Regions from separate parts of the Homo sapiens genome. Here region 2 is linked to region 1. The links are contacts of gene promoters, found by promoter capture Hi-C in blood cells and fetal thymus (Javierre and others, 2016). All regions are on one chromosome and are shown on one strand. Each heading gives the region's core, a stretch centred on a gene start or on the middle of the fragment in contact. The rest is flanking DNA. Distances are from core to core; before and after follow the strand shown. Region 1 holds the start of BTNL8 (butyrophilin like 8). Region 2 overlaps MGAT1 (alpha-1,3-mannosyl-glycoprotein 2-beta-N-acetylglucosaminyltransferase).

Region 1 (2,700 bases), core at 115-2,614:
ACCTCTCTTGCCTATAACATCTCCTTTCACTCCTTCCACTTCCTTCCCTTGAAAATAAGAAAGGAACAAGACTGTTGCTGCAACATGCCATGCACCCGTGCAGCTGTGTGCACTCTACATGCACAAGCTCATGCAGTCCTCACCACAGCCCCAGCAGGAATGTGATCGTATCTCCATGTCATCATAAGCAAACCAACACCTAAGGAAGCTGTGAACAATAAAGCTCACAAGAAAATGAAATAAGAGTTTTTAAAAATAAAATGTTTCTGTCTCCAAGATCATTTCCAGGATGTCCTGCTGCCTCACCCGGAAACAGAAGGGAAACAAAGAAGCTCGTCAGAAAATAAATGAAAACAAACTGAAACGAGAGCGTCTCCTGTTAGTAACACATATGGGTTTTTGTTTTAAGGAAACATGCTCTATGTTTTGATTGCCCTTATTTCTGTTTTCTTAGCTTCATTTAGCAAAAAAGATATAGGTGGACAGGTGGCAGGATGAACCTTCACAGACAGAAAGTGAACACAGTCAATCGAATCTTCTGTGGCTGGGTACTGACCATCTAGCCACCAGCATTCTACCCCAACCTCAAGCTTCCTCTGTGAATTGTATTCAGTCACTCAACATCCTATATACTAGGTTCTGTGTTAACAGTAACTGGAAGGAGAAAGAAGAGTGGATTTCTTCCCAGAATATGCCAGGTTTCAGCTAATTTCTCACCTCAAGACCTGTACACCTTCCTCCACCCTCGTGTCTCATACCACAGACATTTCTAACTCAGCATGTCTTTAGCTGGATACATTGTCTTTTCCCCAAAAATCCTAACTGTGTCTCTTCCCAGATGGACATCCATGTCAGCAACCTTGGTGCTCCAATAACCCTGCCTACACCACTCAGCCCATCTGGGAGAAACACTGAATTTATTCACCTTAACACGTTAGGTGTGTCCCCGTCAACGATCACGGTGCGTCTTCAACACCCGTGTTTCCATTATTTGGGGGCTACTATAATTGTTTCCACAGCGCCTGATCCTTCCCCAGGCTGAGGCTAGGAGAAGCCAAAGGAATGGAAACGACAAAGATGCCTTCATTCCATTATGCTGCAACCATTGTAGCTAAAGAACTCAAACTGTTAGTTAGTAAGGAGGAAACAAAGATGAGTCTTACCTGATCCCAGCTTGAGGAGACTCAGAACCAAACTGAGCATGAGAGCCATGGATGTGTTCTGTGAATGGACCTCACGGCATGGAAACGGATGACAGGAGAGGTGACGGATGGATTAGAGAGAAGAGGAGAACTGGCCTAATGCTCAAGGTGCGGAAGCCACGGAGAGGCTCTGCGTGAGCGGAGGGCAAACTGCGCTGTTCTGAGAGTCTACTCCATCGAGACACAGCTGTCATGTACCAGAAGTGTAGGGACTCTAGACTTTGAACCACTGCATAAATGTCTATATCTTATCAAGGAAGCAAAGATAGAAATAGTGTGGATAAGATTGGAGGTGAACTTTGTCCTGGGCAAAACGATGCCCTGTGTGGGTGAAACAGGAATGTCAGATGCGGAAATACTTTTCACGTCCAATCTGGCAGGCAGGGCTGTATGGCCATGGGATCTAGTCCTGAAAAACCTCATGTTAGCACTGGATAGTTTGGTGTCCAAGTAAATAGGCCATGCTCCATTAGTAGTAGCCTACAGCAGGTGACTTGACATTTCCTGGCACAGTCTGAGGTCCTTTTGCTTACCCCTCCATTCTCTGAAGTTCAGGGCCAGGACTGTAATCATGAGGCCAGATAAAAATAACTTTCCAGAACAAAACAGATCCTTAGTGTTAAACATCTGATACATTGGGAAAGGTGCCTGGGCAGGTTCAGACATGAGGAAACTTATTTATTATATAAACTAAGTTCCAGGGCAGCCACAATGAGAGATTTGCAGTCTTTTTAAGCACACGGAAACTCACAAAGTCACCACTTAACTAGATCAGAATGAAAATTTCCACAGATAACCATCAAAATAAACATACTCTAATCATAATGCAATTAAAATTAAAAAGTAATTCAAAAACATAGGAAACTCTATACACTAAGAAATTCTTATGTAACAATTTAAAACAACTCACGAGACTAAATCACAATAAAAGTTAGCATCTAGAATAGGACAAAATGAAAACACTGCATTTAGTCTAAAATCTAGAACACTGACAACACCAAATGCTGGTGAGGATGCGGAGCAACAGGAATTCTCACTGATTGCTGACAGGAATGCAAGACGGTACGGTTGTTCTAGAAGACAGTTCAGCAATTTCCTGCAAAATTAAACATACTTTTATCACCTAATCCAGCAACTGCACTGCTTTTTATTCACCTAAATGACTTGAAAACATATGTCCACATGAAAAATTGCACATGAATGTTTATAGCAGCTTTATTCATAATTGCCAAAAATGTTTGCAACCAGATATCATTCAATAATGATACATAGAATGTATACACAAACTATGGTACATCTATACAATGGAATATTACTCTGTGATAAAAAAAAAAAGGAAATGAGTTGTTGAATGTTGTAAGCAAGAGAGTAGAATAGAAAATTATTGATCTCATGCTGTCTCAGAAATACAGATTTACCAAGGATATATAGACCAAAATACCTTTTTATGAAGCTGCTGAGAAGGCACAGTATCCTCTCCATTCCAGTGGCAGCTATG
Region 2 (2,700 bases), core at 57-2,556, 110 kb after region 1:
CACCCATCAAGGCTTGCTCAGGTGGCATGCGTGTGTGCGTGGCGGCTGCCCCCGGGCCCGGAAGCGCCTGTGGATACCAAAGCAAGTGGAAATGCCAGATGGAAAAGCCCCGTGTTAGTCAATGCTGTAGAGTTCAGCCAGCCTCGAGTTTGCAGGTTTACAGAGCTGCCTTGCGCCTGGCTGCTGCTGCTGCTGCATTCCTGCTTCTGCCTCCAGCTGTGACCACCTCCTGCCACTCCTGCTCTCACTGTGGGTTCCTGCTCACTCTGTCTCCAGGACAGACTGCCTTCCGGGCAGCCTTCCCTCCTCAAGCCTCTTGGCCTTTGCAATCCTCTTACCTGGGTCACTGGTGGGATCTCATTTGTGGATCAAGTCGCCCCCAGTGGAGACAAATGTCTGATGGAGTCTGGCCAAGGCCCTCCTGAGCCTTCACTGGGCCCTGCATGAGAAGCCTGCCAAGGCTGAGGGGCCAGGGAAACGGAGACGAAGCCCTCAGAGCAGGCCAAGAGGGTGGGAGGTGGGGGGCATTTAGAGGGTTAGATACAGAGCACCCCTTTACAAATACCAGCTACTGGCTTTTCGTATTACATGTTCATTTTAGATACAACATACTGCACACGCTCCCTTAACGTGTGTTTACGCGTGGGTGGTGTATCCTTCCAGACGTCTTCCTCACATCTATACATAATATGCATAGATAAAACATTTACCACCAAAACCCATAGTGTTATGTACATATTTGTCTGGCTGTGTAACTTTAAATAACATACAAATGTATAGAACAGAAGCTTGCCCTCTTTCTGAAATATCTAACGTGGGATTTCAGGCTTTCTGATGAGACCTCTGTAGAGGTCAGTGTTTTGCCACCAGAGGTCCTTCAGCCTCCATCTGTTCTCCCACCTACCCACATTCTGGCCCCTGGCAATTCACAGGGAGTTTAGGAAGTAGACACCAGGGCCCTATTTCCTGGAGACCAGCCTGGTGGCCGATGTCATAGAGTGCGGTGGGCCTGGGCCGGCCCTGCTCTGGGCCCGTGACCTGCGTGTCTGACTCGGGTCCAGCTGTTCTTCCTGCCAGAGCCTCTTCCTGTGAGGCGGGGGTAACACAACCTTCTGTGGTGGCTGTGGGATTAATCCGTATGGCTGCATTGTGAGTAAAGCCTGGTGGAAATCTCTGTCTCCACTGCTTTCCTTTTCCTGCTGTTCACCTTGGCTCCCTCGACACTTAATCCCCCTCCACATGTGTCTGGAGCGGGCAGAGCGGGGGCAGTTGATAGAAAGGGGGCCGGGTAGTGCCAAGGCTGTTACTTTCCCCCACTGCCTCCCTTGGCTAACTTGAAGTCTGACCCTTTATACCAGAACTGTAAGACAGTGTGTCAGAATGGATTCAGTTGCAGAGCAGGAAGCCTGGATCCCAGCGCCGGACGGAAATGAGAGGTCGATGGTGCAGGCTGGTGTGGGGGTTCCTCCACCGTCAGGGCCCAGGCTCCTTCTCAGGTCTCAGTCTCACTCTTCTTAGCACGAGGTCAGGTCTCATTCCTTGGCTGCGGGAGCTCCAGCCAGCACACGTTTTAGGAAGAAGGAGGAAGGAAGAAGGTAAAGGGTGGATGGCAGCTGCCTCCTCCTCTCTTGGAAGCTCACAGAGCGCTGGGTCACAATTCCCTGGGTAGAACTGGATCACACAGGCACCCCTGTCAGCAAAAGAGGCTGGAAAAAGTATTTCTGAAGCTGAATCAAATTAAGATTCCTGTTACTAAGAAGGGAGTGATTGTATGGGCGACTACAGGGACCACGGCCATACACGGTGCCTGGAAGACCAAGCTTGTGACAGTGACGAGGATTTGGAGAGGGCAGGGTGATGGGGAGCTTTGGGGGGAGTGCATTAGGAACCCTGACCTGGAGAGGGGCAGAATGAAACCTGCGGGCCCCTAACCCTAGTGGGTTGTTTGAGAAACCTGTCCTACTGTGGCAGGGGGCTGAGTCTTCTCAGGGTCATGCATGAAAACTGAAATTCCTGAAGGCCACACACAGCCCCGGAAGTGCTGACTGACAAGGGCACATGCCAGTGATGCAGTTTTCTTTTTTGTCTTCACTTTTGTTGTTCCGCCGTCTTCAACACATGGCTCCCAGCTCACAGCAAATGCTGCCCTGGTTCAGCTACCAGGAAGCAGGAGAGGGGAAGGGAGGGCAAGCCTCATTCTTTATGGAACAAAAGCAGTGGGCAGACAGCCTTCCCTCACGTTCCACTCACTGGAATGTGGTCTGGCTGCCTTCCCTGCAGGAGGTGGGATGCACCCTCAGTGCAGCAGCCCTGCCCCAGCCAAAAACGTCTCAGCACAGCTGTAAGAAGAGGAAGATGGCTAGAGACAGGCAGCCTTCCCTGCAAGGGCAATGAGGCAAGCCTGCCAAAAGCCTCCTTTGGAAATACTGTTTGATTACTTTTCAGAGTTTCTATTTAGGAAAAGGGCAAAACCTTTCAGGATCAGGAGTAGGTGAGCGGCGATCAGGCCTCACTCTTCACCGAGGGCCTTCCCTGAGGAGGGGCCTGCAGGACGCTGGCAGCGGAATGGGGCTGTGTGGCTGCTAGATTAGGTCATGGCAGGGAGACAGCCTCTTCCTGGTTCTTGCTAGAACAGGCACACTTGGGGCCTTGAGCTCCAGGGAGTTCATGGAAGACATCTGACTACCCTGAGCCCCTTGC

What was found. Contacts are between HindIII fragments. The CHiCAGO score rates a contact against its expected background, and 5 or more counts as called.
Region 2: a fragment that was not itself captured here is called in contact with the fragment with the promoter of BTNL8 in region 1 in 1 of 17 cell types (naive B cells); the score reaches 5.0 in naive B cells.

What each region holds. Positions count from the first base shown.
Region 1 is chr5:180,897,823-180,900,522 of GRCh38, reverse strand. It overlaps BTNL8 (butyrophilin like 8), which reads right to left and starts at 1,364. Exons shown (of 8, transcript NM_001040462.3): 1 at 1,164-1,364. The coding sequence starts at 1,212. The HindIII fragment of the contact is 2,662 bases long and covers 593-2,700 here.
Region 2 is chr5:180,785,524-180,788,223 of GRCh38, reverse strand. MGAT1 (alpha-1,3-mannosyl-glycoprotein 2-beta-N-acetylglucosaminyltransferase) reads left to right here. Exons shown (of 2, transcript NM_002406.4): 2 at 1-2,700. Among named protein-coding and RNA genes, the nearest start is that of MGAT1, 16 kb to the left of the region's middle. RefSeq lists enhancers at 1,367-2,277, 2,278-2,700. The HindIII fragment of the contact is 1,032 bases long and covers 791-1,822 here.